Regions from separate parts of the Homo sapiens genome. Here regions 1, 2, 3, 4 and 6 are each linked to region 5. Evidence: promoter capture Hi-C in 16 types of primary human blood cells and fetal thymus (Javierre and others, 2016). All regions are on one chromosome and are shown on one strand. Each heading gives the region's core, a stretch centred on a gene start or on the middle of the fragment in contact. The rest is flanking DNA. Distances are from core to core; before and after follow the strand shown.

Region 1 (2,700 bases), core at 116-2,615, 530 kb after region 5:
TATCTGTTGGCCTGTAGCATACTTACTGCAGAACTTGTAGCTTGATAGCCCAATGTGTTCTTGGGTTATGATTCTGAAATACTGCTGAGCTTTAAAAACTTTAGCAGCTTTGACCAGAACACCTACGTTAAAATTTCTTTATAACTCTTCAGAATTTTTTTCTTTTTCTTTTTTTTTTTGAGACAGGGTTTTGCTCTATCACCTAGGCTGGAGAGTGAAGTGGCATAATCATGGCTCACTGGAGCCTCTACCTTCCAGGCTCAAGCAATGCTCCTACCTCAGCCTCCACAGTAGCTGGGGCCACAGATGTGCACCACTGCACTTGGCTAATCCTTAAATTTTTTTGTAGAGATGGGGTCTCACCATGTTGCCCAGGCTGCTGTCAAACTCCTGGGCTTAATCAGTCCTCCCACCTCAGCCTCCCAAAGTGCTGACATTACAGACGCGAGCCACTGTGCCTGGCCAGTCTTCAGATTTGTTAACAAATCTCAGGGGTTTGCTTTAGTCTCCCAAGCTCGCCTTACGTAAATGTGTCATGTAATGAAAGATGATATTCCCAACCCACCATCTCACATATTCAGTTGATTTTCACTAACCGTGAAGGATTTGCACTGATTTATGCATCCAATTCTCTCCTGATTTCTTTACTTTTCCTCCTCTTTTCTCTTTCCTCACCAGTCTTCCGTTTCCATCTAATGACTAGTGTCCCACATTGGACAAGATAAAATGGTTGACCAGTTAGAGACATAGGAAAAAGTGGAATATTGAATTTGCATTGAAAGGGCTGAACTTGTGACCTTATGTTATCTTCCATATAATTCTAATTTCTACAATATAAGGTTTTAATTTACTCAGTTCAGAAAATCTAATTGTTTGACAGTAAAGTTTGGACCTATTTATATAAAGTTTGGAGGAAATATGATCTTATCAATATGCACTATGGAAAATGTCCTTTTTAGTCTGTGAATTTAGAGCTATACCTACTGCTTGAATGAAGATGGTCTAAAGATTTAAAAGACATTTAGGGTTAATAAGTTTTCATGGCAAAACATTTAACATTTTTAAACTAAATTCAGATGAGTTACTCATTTTTTGTGTACCTTAATTCCTTCCAAATACTCTTCTGTCAGAACTACAAAGTTAAATCTCAATTATAGTGCCCTTTTTTTTATTTAGGGAAATAATTATCATCATTGATTAATACATTGTACAAGGGTTAACTGTCTTTTAACCATCAGGGTATAGAAAAAGTAAGTTGGTTAAAACAACTTTTAAGTTTATTATGGAGATAAACACTATTGTCATATGATTCTTTAGATTTCCTTAAAAATTGATCTCCTATGCCAGGCACAGTAGCTCATGCCTGTACCCTAGTACTTTAGGAGGCTGAGGTGGGAGGATCACTTGAGACCAGCAGTTCCAGATCAATCTTGGCAATACAGTGAGATCGTGTCTCTACTAAAAAAAAGCCAAAAAGAAAAAAAAAAAACCTAGTTGGGCATGGTGATGTATGCTTCTGGTCCCACTTACTCAGGAGGCTGAGGTGGGAGGATGATGTGAGCCCAGGAGGTTGAGGCTGCAGTAAGCTGTGATCATTACACTGTAGTCTAGCCTGGGTGACAGAGTGAGACCCTGTCTCACAGTAAATAAATAAATAAAAATTTAAGCCTTGCTTCTAAATCCAGTCTCCTTTAATTAAGTTTTATTGCCACATTCTTTCTGCTTTTAATTTTTTGTTGTTGTTGTTAAAACTAAATTTTACAGCTTTTGTTTCTCACGTAGCAGCCAGGGTTTGAAAGAGATTAAGGGTCATTCTTCTGAAATAAAACATGTCCTGAATAATTTTAATTTGAGTCTACTATTGAAAGTCACATAACATTTTGTTGAATGGTGATTCTTACCTAATCACCTGTAAATGGATCACAGACACAAATACCTAGTGATGTGCTATACATTATGCCATTGTGAATTTTATAAAGGCTAAAGAGTGAGGAAGTAGAGTTCTTCTTTTCTGATAGTGCACTACAAAATTTTGAGGACCTTGCAGTGATCATCTGTAGTCATAAAAGCTGTTTAGCCAAAACATGATTGGATTTTATTAATAGTGTTACGGCTATCTTTTCATGAGTTAGTTACCATGTGAATTAGTGCAATTTTGGTGAATAGAAGAATGCTTAGGACTATTGTCTTATTTTAAATTACCGATTATCTTTTTATAAGGATATTTGAGGAGTTCATGTGTCAGTGAGAATTGAGCAACTGAGAAGAAGTTAGAGGTTAGTTCCCTTTTCCAAGTATGATGGATTAACCACATGCACCCCGTCTTTCTCACTGAATGCATCTATAAAACCTAGGCAAAATGGATGGAACTCTTCTGGACTCTGCAGAATAAATAATACCAGGTGGGATATGAATGAAGACTAGCATTCAGAATACCATCTCACTGGCTGTGAGTTTACCATTTTTTTTTTCTTCCAGCATCCCCAGACAACTTAACACAATCTAAAACCTAAAAGTGGGGCAATCTGAAACAGAAAGCTCTAAAAGACGCCTGCTACTTCTGGCTCAAGGAACAGGAAAGATAACTGCTAAGTTCAGAATGAAAATTTTGTCATTTTTTTTGTCTTCTCCATCTCTCATGCCCTATTCCCAAGCAACCGTGTGGTAATGGCAGCAGAGACTACAGCAGGAGCCCATGGT
Region 2 (2,700 bases), core at 109-2,608, 810 kb after region 5:
TTTGACAAGTGTAAAAGTTATTTAACAGCCACCTTATTCATAATGTAGAATCCACCTCAAAAAATGTCCTTATTCCCCTTGGTAGTGAGTCCCTTTCCTCCATCCCGTGGTCCTTGGCAACCATTGATCTGCTTTCTGCTACCATAGTTTTGTGTTTTCTAGAAGTTCATGTAAATGGAATTGTAGAGTATGTATGTGATCTTTCATGACTGGCTTTTTTTACTTAGCATAATCTGCAACTTGATTTTAGATACAACATAATGGGCCATTGTCTGAATGTACTATGATTTATTGAACCCATTTGCTATTATTAAATCCCAATATGTTGCTAATGTAAATAATTCTGTGATCATCTCCCTTTACATAAATTTCTATGTACATCTCTAATTATATCCTTAGGATGAATTTCCAAAGTTGGAATTGCTGATCAAGAGGTAATAAACATTAAGGCTCTGGATTCGTTTTGCCAATTTGCCCTTCAAAAAATTGTGTCATTTCTCCCATGTTTTATAATTATCACCACTGATGATAATTTATCTCTAGAACAAAAAAATAGCCGTTTTCTGGGATACTTCTCTCAATCTATATCTTAAGCTTTCCTTCTTTCTTTTCGCCAGGTAACCGCCAGAGTATATTTAAGAGCATAGGCTAAGCAAATTATACATTCATGTACTAGGGGGGCTTTTAAACTGTAATGTGTATATCAGTCATCTGGGAAACATGTTAAAATGCAGCTTCTAATTCAGTAAGATGGGAGCAGAACCTGAGAGATTCTACTCCAGTGTTTTTAACAAGCTCCCAGTAATGCTGATGCTGCTGATTTGTGGATCACATTTTGTGTAGCAAGGTGCTAAAATATTATGTAGTTGTTGATCTTATATTTATGAAGAGTTTCTGGAGAAATCTTTATGCTATAATGTGCAATGAAAAATGCACTTAAGAGTGTATGTAGTATATTTCAACTGTATGACTGTATATGTGCATTGAAGAAAAATTTGAAAGGAATATACAGTCATGTTAACTGCACCTATTACAACTGTTTACAAGATTTATAGGTGGTTTTCATTTCCATCTTTACGCTTTATAATTGTGCACAATCAGCATATCTTACTTTATAGGAAACCTAATAGACCTTGTTGTTACTTTATTTTCTAGCAGTACTAATGAAGATGAGGATTTGAACCCTGAACAGAAGATAGAAAGGGAGAAGGAGAGGCGGATGGCTAACAATGCCAGAGAACGCTTACGCGTGCGGGATATTAATGAAGCATTCAAAGAGCTTGGCCGAATGTGTCAGCTTCACTTGAAGAGTGAAAAACCCCAAACAAAACTCCTTATTCTTCATCAAGCCGTGGCAGTCATCCTTAGTCTAGAACAGCAAGTCAGAGGTAAGTAGGTTCAGCCGAGATGTATAACTGTTCTGCTTCAGATGGGCAGACATTTCTGTTTACAGTTGCTCTTCTGCTTGGAGAAGTTGTTTGTTATTTCTCCCAGTACTTCTTCTACTGTATCATCAGGGTCGTTTTTCCTGTAATTCTCACTTCTGTCTCACTGTATCACCCAATATCTGTGGGCTGAGTGTTCTCCACCAATAGAGAGTAATTCTGTGAAGCAAAGCAGATAACAAACAGCCTCTGCCTGCTGCTCAGCAATAGTGCTTTGTGTCTCTTTGCTCTGGTTGCTTCTGATCTCTCAACCATTAAATTTCCCTGCCTGGACCTGCCCTCCTCCCTGCTCTTTATGTCTTTCCTACTTCTCTGTATTCATTTTCTTGCCTGCTCTACTTTGGAGTATCTACCGTGCCCTGCTGGTTAATAGGATGCCTTGTTATCATCCCTTCTGCCTTTGCCAGATACCTTTACACCCATGTCAATAAGGTCTCAGGGCTTCTTTGTTGACCCCAGACCAGGAACACCAAGAACTTTTTGGGCTAACATACATCGGCATGCCTCTGTGTCCTTAAGGGCAAAAGAGCTCACCCAGTGCTGACTCAGTTTCATTTTTCAGGAAGTTTGTTGCAGTTTTGAAGAAACTTTGAAACTTCATTTGTTCAACATGTATTTATTGCATACCTCCTCTGTTCCAACCAGCTGTGTCCTAGGCCCTGGGTTATCAAATAATAGAAGCTTCTTATCTTTAAGAGGTTTTACCATCAAGCTTGAGTTTCTCCATATACTTATATATTGTCTTAAAATATCCTAAGCCTTTTTGCAAGGAATTCATAGATGTGGCCCTAGGTTCCAGATCTGACCACTAGTCTCTCTCAGAGCAATTCTTTCGATTTTGTGTGAAGACGGTTCAAAAAAGAATAGGGTGGGCAGATGCTTGAAAACTACAGCCATGGAGCCTCAGCATTAGATTACAGAATGAGTACTCTTTCTTAGGAAAACCAGAGTTAGAGAACTTGAACAAACTTTCAGAAATATATACAGTAGTAGTTAATTCATCCACTTCCCTCCAATATATTTAATGAATAAGAATGAGGGATAGATCATTTTGTGTATAATCAACCTAATGTTAAAAATGGATACTTGCTCCTCTTCTCCCAAGGTCCTTGAAATATCTGTGGAGTATAAATGTTAATGAAACCTAATCTTCAAGTAATTATAGACTCCCTTGTGATATCCATAAGGAGGCAGATTGTTACCCACTCGCCTGTGGCAGAAGCAGTGGTTCCTTGAACTACTGATACCTCCTGTC
Region 3 (2,700 bases), core at 37-2,536, 680 kb after region 5:
GAGCATTTAAAAATACTTTTCCTGTATCAAATACAATGTTTATTGTAGAAAATCAAAATATGGATGAGCCAAAAGAAAATAAGAACATCCCTTATTTAAGAACATTTAAACATCTTAATAAGAACATTTCCATATGCCCAGGGCTACTGTGCTGCTTTAGTCTTCTGCTCTAAAGTTATTCTGCAGGGTATTCTGTCCATAGCTAATATTGGGAGAAAGGCAATCTAATTAAGCTTATTTACATTAATGAGTATTGGTAATGTGTTACAGTACAGAGAACCTAGGATTTGGAATCAGAACCTGAATCTTAGCAGTGTGCTCAGCCTTCACTACATTTATGACCTTTGGTAATTTAGTTGACCTCAATGATTCTCATTTATAAATGATTTCTCATTTATAAAATGGGAATAATAAAACTTGATTATCAGGGGATTGGTGAGTGTGAAATAAGATAGAAAATGCACAGTAAATGTAGTTTGAAATATGTAAAAAAAAAATGTGTACTAGGGATCATTGATAATGAGTGATGGACTTCTAATTCTTACATTATTTGCTTTTTGAAGTTTCTTGGTCACCCATATTGACCACAGATTGATAGAATCTTAGCTGTTCATTTAAAAAATATATTTTAGAGAATGAAAAAGGGAAAAAGAGTTGGTGTAGGAGTCACTTTGGTAAGCACGCTGACATAGCCTCAGTTTATATACTCAGGGATGCCTTCCTAGAGCTGTTCCTGATTCTCTCTTTCTTTGAATCCACCTGATCTCTAAAAGCTAACTCTATGCCCAAAGGTCAGTCAGCCTCTCCTTATGCTACTCTGCTCCTGCTGCGTGATAGTTGAGGGTAGGAAGGCTTTTGAGTTTAGAGCAGCGTTTCTGAAGCTTTATTGCTTATAAGAATCATCCAAGGATCTTGCTATAAAATGCAAGTTCTAGTTCAGATCATCTGGTATGGTACCCGAGATTCTGAATTTTTACAAACTTCATGGCCTTGCCTCTGATCTGAATATTACACTTTGAGTGGAGTTAAAAAACATGAATGATGTTTTTTATGTGACTTTTTATTTCTAAAGCTATTTGTAACTTAGGGTATTACTCATATTGTTATTACATATACCCTTTAAGATTTCATGTTAATTTCTTCTATTTAATACAGTCTTGTTCTCTGTGTAAAGCCTCAAACTCATTAGTTGCCCCAGGGTAATAATGAGGGTAACCAGTACTAGCATAAAGTGGTTACACAGGAGAACCAATACCAAAGGAAAATGTAACTGATAGTAGCAAGGTTTTTCTTTCATTCTTAAAACTTTGTCAACATCTCTCACTAATAGTAAATTAAATGTGAAATTTAAAATGAAATTACTAGATATACAAATTTGTTACATTTTCACCATGTTACAGAGTATTCATGTAAAAATCACTTATATTTAATAGCCAGTGTATTCATATTGTTTTAAATTAGGATTTTGTCTTAGGAGAGTTATCAAGTTCTATTTATTTCTGTGATACAAAAAATATTCAAATTTATATTATAGAACTCTAAGGAAATGAATACCGGATTTAGTCAAGGCAGAAATACCAAGACACAAGGGGGCACTGTCTTACCATAATCTGACTGATTTTAATTTAGCTTTTTGTTTGCTGTGAATGTCTTTCGTTTCCAAAATTCTGTCTTCTTTGTAGTTAATCATGAAAGCTTAAATATTATACATTCCTCTAAAGCTGTAATACTTAAATCAACTGAGCTTTCAGATTTCACAAATCAAATGTGCTCTTAGCAACATTTGGGAACCTTTCATTGTATTTGGCGTGAAATTGGGAAGAGTGGATGATAATTAGAGATGGTGTAACACACTGTTAGTGTTTAGGTCTGCGGTGGGGAAAATCACTGTAAAAATAATTCAGTTGATTTGGAGAAATATAGTGCCTCTGTTAGGCAGAAATGAGTTGGGATAAAGATTGAACTGTTATAAGCTGCAGCTGCATTTGCCATAAAATACCAAGTTGGTGCTGATGAATGTTTTGTTTTTATTGTCATGGAAACTTGGAGCTGGAGAATGGATATTCTATTCATTTGGGAAAATAGCAGTGCCTTGCATAAAACATAAGGGCCTTCCAAAGCAGTTCCTTAAATAGATATTGGCTGAATATAATCCAAAAAGTTGAGGAAGTAAAAGTGAAATAAATGCAATCATTTCTGGATCACTTCTTCCATTCTCAGTACTAACAATGTAACTATATATTCAGTTATTAAGCTTATTACTTCTAGAAAGTTTAATTCCAGTAAGCATGGTATTTGTTTAACATCAGTGTAATAGTTATCTAACCCTTTAGAGCTATCTTTATATTTATTTCCTTAGTTGTAAGATATCTTTTGGGAACTCTAAACCTATATCCTATTAAACAACTACTTCTGATCCCCAAATAGTTTGTTTTTTAAATTAATCCTGCTTATCTGCTATAATCTTTCATTGAAATATTTTAAAGCATTTTATACTTTTTTTAAAGCTTTACCCAAAATAAACTCTTACCATAAAAGCACTAAGTGAGATCTTTGCATGTTCTAGGGAAAAAAAACAGAAAGTATAAAATAAAAAACCTATAAAGGTGCAGTTAAATCCTTGTGCATATTTTATAAAATTATGAATGGAAAGAGACAGTCACAGGAACAGAAAATGCAAAGGAGTTTTGGGTTCAGTTA
Region 4 (2,700 bases), core at 108-2,607, 660 kb after region 5:
ATCTCAGCTCACTGCAATCTCCACCTCCCCAGTTCAAGTGATTCTCCTGCCTCAGCCTCCTGAGTAGCTGGGACTGCAAGTATGAACCACCATGACTGGCTAATGGTGGTTTTGTTTTTTTGTTTGTTTGTTTGTTTTTTTGTTTTTTTGGCAGCAGGTCGGTGGGTGGGCAGTGTTTGTAGAGACAGGGTCTCACATTGTGCCCAGGCTAGTCTCAAACTCCTGATGTGAAGCAATCCTCTCCGCTCAGCCTTCCAAACCGCTGGAATTATAGGCATGAGCCACCGTACCCGGTCCACAGCTTTTTTTTTTTAAGTATCTTCTTCATACTAGATACGATACTGTATGCTATTTTTGAGACTCCGTAGTCAAGTATAATTGTAAACCAGCTAGTAAAATTGAAGTTTCTTTTTTCATCCTTGTGTTATTTGGAAACAAAATTAAGAAATAGAGTCTCTTTTCTTCCTCCTACTTTATTCAACAGCCCTCACTCCATATGGATACTGTATACTTTGGATTTTAGAATATTTTAACTCTTAAAGGAATGGGCAGTGGAATCACAATATCACTGATTTAGCAGATCCTTGGTAAATATTCGTCATGTGATCCTGTGGCAATCCTAAATAGGAATTCACCTCTTTCTCTTAAGCTTTCCCATAGTACTTTATATCTCTTTAAAAAAATCAGTTGTTTACATTACTACATTGAAAGTTTTTTGGACCACCAACCTTGTTTCTGTCTCAGAACCTTAGCTAAATGCAGGGTATTCAAATATCCCATCCTTATTTCCTGTCATTTCTTGTCATGAGTCTTAGGTCCTACTACTATTTACCTGCTTATAATTACACATTTAGTTTGAAGTGTTTTATGTTTGCATGCTTTTCTTTCACATTATTCCCCCTAACTGAAATGCCCTTCATACATTTTTTTGCCTAATTAAATCTGTCAGTTCATTTATCAGTACTTACTGCATTTCTGCCATTTGCTAGATACTGCGTTGACTACTCGGATGTACATTGGTAATGGAAGCATTTATGACTTTGCCGTCCTGGAGTTTTCAACCCATGCTTGTCTTTTCTAGAAAGCCTTGCCTAAACTCCCAACTTGGATTCAGTGCTCCCTTGCTGTTTTGTCTGTGGCTCCCTGTATATGTTATGCTGAAATTTGCTGTTTGTGTACACTTGCTTTTAGGTTGGAGTTTTCTTGAAGATAGGATGTCTTGATTCATTTCTTCCCTTGGCCCTATCCAATATCTGATATATATCAAGTGCTCAATAATTGTTTGTTGAACTGCTTTTAAACTGTAGATAGATTACATGATCCCTGCCATTGATGAGCTCTCAGGACTTACAGTTCTGTGTATGTTTTGGCTTTTGTTATAGTTGTTTGAATGCATATCTGTCTCTCCTGTTAGGTTGCCAGCTTCTTGAAGAATAAAATTTTATCAGCATATTTTATTTATATTATATGGACAATTATATTTCTATATTTTTTTGCTATGCCCCACCATATCTAATTTTACATATGGGACCTGTAAGATTTTGATCCTTCTCCTAAAATGTTTTTGGTAAATGCTGATCTCCTGTGAGAGCCACCTGAGTGAGGAATCTCAGTGTGTAGGAAAGTGAGACATTCTTTAATGAGAGACTGGAAGAGTTTGGTTGTTAAGTGGGCTCAGAAAATGTCTGTTGTGGCAAGCCTGTGGCCCCATCTACTCAGGATACTGAGGTTGGAGGATCACTTGGACCCAGGAGATTGAGGCTATAGTGAGCCATGATTGCACCTCTGCACTCTAGCCTGGGTGAAAAAGTGAGACTGTCTAAAAAAAAGAAAAGAAAGGAAAGGAAAATGCCTGTTGTCTCTCCTCTGCAAATGAGCTGATACTGAAAGGTAATCTGGAACAGGAGTTTTATGGATATCTGTTTTTGAAACTGAAAGAAGTAGCATTTTGGCATGATCTGGAGCTGACATACATTCCAGAGGCTATATAGATGATGACATCTACCAGTGAGGCTACATGACTGACGTAGAAACTGAGGTTCTTTCGCTAGTCTAGGACAAAGATGAAGCTTAACTTCGCTGATGGATAGAACCAGACTTTGTCACTGTTTAAATAATACATTTTTGGTTGTTTTCTAAATATGAATTCGGTTCACTCTGAAATTAGAGCAGTTCCATGAGTTCACTGAATTTATTTGAACAATAGTGTTTGCCATGGTTTGAATGATGGTATCTGCTCCAAAATTCATGTTGAAATTTAACCCTCAATGCAACAGTGTTAAAAGGTGTAGTTGGCCTGTGGGAGGTTATTAAATTATGACAGAGCTTCACTATCATAAATAGGATTAACGCCTTATGAAGTGGCTCAAGGTCGAAAGGCGCACCTTCTTGCCCTTCCACTCTTCTACCCTGTGAGGACACAGCGTTTATCTCTTGCCCTTCTGCCATTTGAAGATACAGTATTGCTCCCCTCAGAGGAGGCAGCAATAAAGTGCCATGTTGGAAGCAGAGAGCAACCCATATCAGATGCCAGTCCTGCTAGCCCCTTAATCTTAGACTTCTCAGTCTCTAGAACCATGAGAAATAAATTTGTATTGTTTGTAAATTACCGATTCTATGGAATTTTTGTTACAGCAGCACAAATGGTCTGACAGTGTTCTTCTTTAAAAAGGAATAATGTTCATGGATACAGCTCTATTG
Region 5 (2,700 bases), core at 140-2,639:
CTGCAACCTGGGCGACAGAGCAAGACTCCATCCAAAAAAAAAAAAAAGTAAAAGCAACTTACTCAAGGGTCCGTAGCTAAGGTATAGCAGTAGTAGGATTCAAAGACAGGCCGGCTCCAGAAACCCAGGTCTTTACGATTACACCGAGCTGAGGCACAATCAGGCATCACTTACCTGCTGCTGTTGTTTATCTACTCATTTCCAGCATTAACAGCTGACTTTCATCGTTTCCAAGGTGCAAAATGAAAAAAAAAGTAACAATGAATAGTAAAACTTACCTTTTGAATGGCCTCTTCCATATCCAACTCAAATTGTTCATTTTGTAATAATCTGAGAAATTGCTTGCGCTGAACACGGTTATCATTTTCATTCTGCACCATTTGATTCCTGATTTGACTGTTGACGTTTTTTAGAGCTTGGACATGTAATTTTTTGCAGTAGTTTTCATCTACTAATTTCTGATGCCTTTCACTACAGCTCAAATTTCTCCTTTTGGAACCCTACGATGGAAGAAAAAAAAAGATGCATATTTTGATATTCCAAAATCTAATTTTAAAAAATGTATTGATATAAACCTTAGTAAGAAAGGATACGAAGAGCCTGGCTTCCTTCCTAAATTCAAAGGAGTATACCGAATAAAAAGTAAACGTGGTAAATATGTTCACATATCGATTAAATAGGTACTGTTATTATTACCTATTTTATAGATGAAACATGAAAAGTAACTTTACCCAAGGTTCTGCAGCTAATAAATAGCTGTGCTAGGATTAATCGCACCCTACAGACCCAGATCTTTACTACCACCAGGGAATTTCTCCTCCCCTCATTCCACCCACCACCACCACCACCACGACTACCACCACAGGGCCATAAAGTGCTGTTCAGAAGCTGGTCAGATTTTCCTAACATAAATGTAATAGGTCAATTCGCCGCTATTTATCAATTCGCTTTCTCCTACACTTTTATATCTACTTATTTCTTCAGAGGTTCTATTGGGCAGATTTAAAGATGTATTTAATACACTATGCGAAAAGTGCCAAAAAAGCTGGAAACCACCGCGAGCGTCCCTTCTAATAGCACCTGAAGCCTCCGAAAGCAAATACAAGTTCCCCAATTAATGACCAGATTAAGCACTTAAAATCCTTTTTTAGAAGCAGATGAGCGCCAAACTAGAATTAAATCAACAATAAACAAGTAGTTTCAAGTCCCCCAACTGGCTCACCATCTTGGCTGACGAAAAATACCCCCTCTCGTGGGACCGCGGCCACCACCTCCCGCCGCAAACGCAGCAGCCAGCAGCCCCAAGGAGCGCACCTGGCTGCGCGCGCTCGGGTGTTTACGCGGCGTCTTGGCAACGGTGGAGCTGCGCGCCCTCCGCTCGACCAAAAGTGACCCACGCAGAACGTGGCCTCCCATTGGACGCGATAAGATACAATCGGCATTGAGCTTCTTAGGACCAGGGCAGGAGGGCTACTTCTATAGGTCTAAACTAGAAAAGCGGGAAGTTCAGACTGTGGCCTGACCCAAGCACTTTGCAGTGGGCTAGGGAAGCTCGATTTCCCTCCAGCGGCCGAACTGTGGTTTCAGTGGGTTTGGGAGCCAAGTTCGGGACTGTGGAGACTGCGCACAGAGAAATACGCAAACTACTGCCTAATGCATGGAGCCGAAGGAAATTTCCACGCATGGAGCATCCCGCACACTAAGTGCCTAGTCAGCCAGGTCTCTGCTAGGGACGATGACTGGTTTAATCCTCAGCAATGGGAGTCCAGGTCGCTGTCCCCTTTGCTGGGTTGTGAGGCACTGAGGGTAGCACGAGCTTCCAGCAGCCTTCACTTCACCCCCCCGCCCCCCCCCCCCCCCCGCAGAAGCTGCTGGTAAATTTTGGGACTAAAATCTATGAGCCACATGAATCTTACTCTGCTATGTGGTCCAGGTACCAAGAGAGAGCACGTTACATGATGGCAGGATGTTGATCTGGTTCATTCCATAGGCAGGTTAGACACTAAAGTCCATTTTAAATGGGAAGTTTAAGAATGATAATGGATCAGAGAAATTAGATATACTGATTTTAGAAATGATACATTCAGAGAAATCTTGTCAACACTAAAATATTTGTATAAGGTGATTAGTGGTATAACTTTGTGTTATTCTAATTTGGAGTCCGTCTTCTGTAGCAATATGTCTGCTTAAAGATTAATAACAAATGGGACTTGCAGTTTCAGTGCTGACGTGTAAAAGCTTGGAAGTTGTCACCCCATCCTTACAACCAGATCAAAACAACTAAAAATCAGCGACTTCTCTTGGTTCCATCATACAACTGAGGTCGCTCGTCTCTCTGTCCTTTGGTCATTTATCCCGTGGTTGCATATCTATGTTGTCTCTAGTACTCCACTCATTGCCATCACTGTTTGAGAGAAATGGAGAGAAGGCGTAAACCTGCCCTCTGGGTGTTCTGTGTAAATTGATCTGGAATGGAGCAAAGCAGGCAGCCTGCTATAAATTTCTCTTCTTGGCATATCCATCTCCGCAAAGGGTTGGGCACTGTATAGAAGAGACAGGAGACAGGCATGGGTTCAGGGTTGAACAGGGTATAACACATTCAATAGAGTGTGGGGTTTAATTTGTTAATTCCTAATAGTGAAATAGTGACATTGCAAAGTATTTCAGCAAACATGTATGTTTTTTACTGTTTACTTCTCG
Region 6 (2,700 bases), core at 46-2,545, 750 kb after region 5:
CAGTTTGCTAATAAAAGGTATATGGCTCCAAGTTACGTATTTTGTCAGGGTCCTCTGGCATTTTCACTAGTCATTTTGCTAGTGTGTACAATGATTCCTATCTTGCTGTAAAACTTGGTGATTTTTTTATATTGTTGAACTAGGTGACATGAATATTGAGTCAGATCACATAATCTTAGAGTAACACATAAGTGATTATGTAGCGTTGTGGGTGGAAACAATTCTGGATAAAAAGTGCATGACAGTTCAGAACTACTGTGCAGGCAGCCTGTCTGAAATCAGGTTTAAAAATTGGCCCTGTCTCCAGCTGACTCGTTTTGTCAGACTGAGTCATAGGATTAACCCTTGACATGTTCCTTTAAAAAAAAAAAAAAAAAAAGCAAAGATTAAACAACTGCATTTACTAAAGCAGCACTTGATCCATCTATATGCATTTTTTTCCTGTAATATGATTCTCCTTAGGACAAGAAATTGTGCTACAGCTGTTGCATAGATTAAATTAATTTTTAAAAAATTGGGAGCAGAGAAAAAAAGATTTTATTATACAAGATAATTTATAATGGCAATCAAGCAATGACCATCTACATCAAACAGTTTTAGTTTTTTGGGGGGTAAGGCAGACTTCAAGAAAAATGCTGTTTTGGAGCGACAAACTTAAAAGACTTTTCCATAGCATACAAGTAGAATATAGGGGCATTTTATGTAGATTACCACCAGTTTTGTTGATGATTTACTGTTTTTGAAGAATGAGATTTTAATATCATATAATTATAGATACAGGCATAGAGTTTTGTTGTTGTTGTTTTTTTAAGTTTTTATATCTATGCTCAATTTAGGCAGTAGTGTATACCAAGTGACTACGGTTTGTATTGGCAGGGGAGGTCTTACCTACACATGTACGAGTTTTATATTTATGTTTTTTAGGAGAACAATGAAAAGTAGAAGCAAAAGCTTTTAATTAGTTACTCAACTCTCTTTACAAATTATGTTTCACATTCAGGTTTCATGTTTAACACTAAATCTTACTTAGGTGTTTAATAAACTGATTAGGTTTGTGCAAAAGTAACTGTGTTTTTTTCCATTAAAGAAATTTGATTATACTATTTGGCTTTTACAGTGAATTTCTTTTTTATCTGAATGTATGTTTATTCTCTTCAGATTATCATATAATTGCCTCTAAAATAAAGAACTGGTGTTAAAATATTAAAATTTTCATTGTGCTTTAATAACCAAGGTTGCTTAGTTGGGTTTACATTATGATGTTTGTTTTATCAAACAACATAGTAAGTACCCTCTCTGTTTTCTGCCCGGCATCAGGGAAATGGGCTTAACTGTCATAGGTGGATGTTTTTTAACCAATATAAGAAAGTTTTCTCAGATTGAAGCGATGATTATAAAAATGTTGAAGTATTGTCAGTGCTTTGTGGCTCCCCTCTTCTCCCTATTCCTCCTCAATTTCTATTGAAAAGTAAGTGTTATTTTTAATAATTAATAGAAAAAGAAAATTTTGATTCGATTTTGTTTGATTTTCCTTTTTTTTTGTTTTGAGAGTAGCCGATCTGTCAGTAGAGAAAGACTGTGTATGGAAGACTAAAATTTACTTGAATGGTTTTAAGGCATGCTATTGTTAATTGTGAATCAAAGCTTTTTACACAGTTCTCCAAGGATTGAAATGGGTCTTTGTGGTCTCTCAGGAGGGAGGAAGTTACAAACCACTCCGCAGACTGGCATTTTAATAGTCTGCTGTACAGCGATGTTCTTTTGCAGCTGCTGCTTAGCCTTTTCTATATCTGGAGAGTGTGGGGAGGTTTTATTGTTGTTCCAATACTATCAGCTTTTAAAACATTGTGAAGTTAGTTGCCCTTATTGTCTGATTTAGTTTCGTTACTATAATTTGATCAATATGTTAGTAAAAATGAGGTTGGGGGGATAGGGGGTCCCTTATAGTATATTCCTAGAATATTTCACAGAGGATTTCTGCTTCATGAAAGGTACCTTTAAAAAAAGTGATGTGCCCCCTTTTGCAGCTTGTGAGCTCTCCTCTGATTAATACAATCCCGTTAGAACCTACAAGGCATAGAGGGAAGGATAGTACAAAGAAGTTTTGATGAAGGGAAATGACACAAAAAGGGAAAGTTGCTATTCTGTTTTTCCAGGTTGTAATTACAGCAAACGATTGATTGGAAAACATTTAAATAGCAAAACGTGTCTGTGTAAGAGACACATGTTTTTGTAGACAACTTTTAAAACCTTTTGACTTCGAAGTATGAGTTAGAAATGTCTGTAAGACATTTATTCCCACACTTCTTATTTTTCCTTTCTGAGAAATGTGAGCATTAGCATAAAAATATGAATATACAAAGTATTAAGAACAATAATAAACTTAGAGGAAAGACTTATAGGAAACTGTTTAGTTTATTCTCTCATACTTTATATGAAAGATGTGTGAATTTTTTTTAAGAACAGTCCTATTGCAGGACATTATAAACTTTTGATTGGTGTTGTGTATGAAGAATTCAAGGAGCTTTATAACTGAAAATCTGTATTATTAAGTGTTTCCATTTTAAAAACAGGTAATTTAGTTTCAAGATAATCTATCTGATTTTTGGACTAAGCTTTTTAATAAAATGTGTTCCTTTCAGTTTTCCTCAACATAATTTTTGTAGCTTAAAGTATGGTTTGTTCTAGCTAGTTAAGAGG

Evidence for each region. Contacts are between HindIII fragments. The CHiCAGO score rates a contact against its expected background, and 5 or more counts as called.
Region 1: a contact is called between a fragment that was not itself captured here and the fragment with the promoter of MNS1 in region 5, in 1 of 17 cell types (fetal thymus). The highest score is 5.1, in fetal thymus.
Region 2: a contact is called between a fragment that was not itself captured here and the fragment with the promoter of MNS1 in region 5, in 2 of 17 cell types (fetal thymus and total CD4 T cells). The highest score is 6.6, in fetal thymus.
Region 3: a contact is called between a fragment that was not itself captured here and the fragment with the promoter of MNS1 in region 5, in 1 of 17 cell types (fetal thymus). The highest score is 6.7, in fetal thymus.
Region 4: a contact is called between a fragment that was not itself captured here and the fragment with the promoter of MNS1 in region 5, in 1 of 17 cell types (fetal thymus). The highest score is 6.5, in fetal thymus.
Region 6: a contact is called between a fragment that was not itself captured here and the fragment with the promoter of MNS1 in region 5, in 1 of 17 cell types (fetal thymus). The highest score is 5.3, in fetal thymus.

Annotation. Positions count from the first base shown.
Region 1 is chr15:56,990,632-56,993,331 of GRCh38, forward strand. The region is part of intron 3 of TCF12 (transcription factor 12); the gene reads left to right. Among named protein-coding and RNA genes, the nearest start is that of TCF12, 73 kb to the left of the region's middle. The HindIII fragment of the contact is 3,108 bases long and covers 1-2,700 here.
Region 2 is chr15:57,271,875-57,274,574 of GRCh38, forward strand. TCF12 (transcription factor 12) reads left to right here. Exons shown (of 21, transcript NM_207037.2): 19 at 1,156-1,388. Among named protein-coding and RNA genes, the nearest start is that of SNORD13D, 5.4 kb to the right of the region's middle. The HindIII fragment of the contact is 1,532 bases long and covers 593-2,124 here.
Region 3 is chr15:57,145,000-57,147,699 of GRCh38, forward strand. The region is part of intron 5 of TCF12 (transcription factor 12); the gene reads left to right. Among named protein-coding and RNA genes, the nearest start is that of SNORD13D, 130 kb to the right of the region's middle. The HindIII fragment of the contact is 814 bases long and covers 880-1,693 here.
Region 4 is chr15:57,119,157-57,121,856 of GRCh38, forward strand. The region is part of intron 5 of TCF12 (transcription factor 12); the gene reads left to right. Among named protein-coding and RNA genes, the nearest start is that of SNORD13D, 160 kb to the right of the region's middle. The HindIII fragment of the contact is 1,420 bases long and covers 648-2,067 here.
Region 5 is chr15:56,463,748-56,466,447 of GRCh38, forward strand. It overlaps MNS1 (meiosis specific nuclear structural 1), which reads right to left and starts at 1,390. Exons shown (of 10, transcript NM_018365.4): 1 at 1,223-1,390; 2 at 279-500. The coding sequence starts at 1,225. RefSeq lists a silencer at 1,320-1,569. The HindIII fragment of the contact is 3,006 bases long and covers 1-2,236 here.
Region 6 is chr15:57,216,204-57,218,903 of GRCh38, forward strand. The region is part of intron 8 of TCF12 (transcription factor 12); the gene reads left to right. Among named protein-coding and RNA genes, the nearest start is that of SNORD13D, 61 kb to the right of the region's middle. The HindIII fragment of the contact is 693 bases long and covers 950-1,642 here.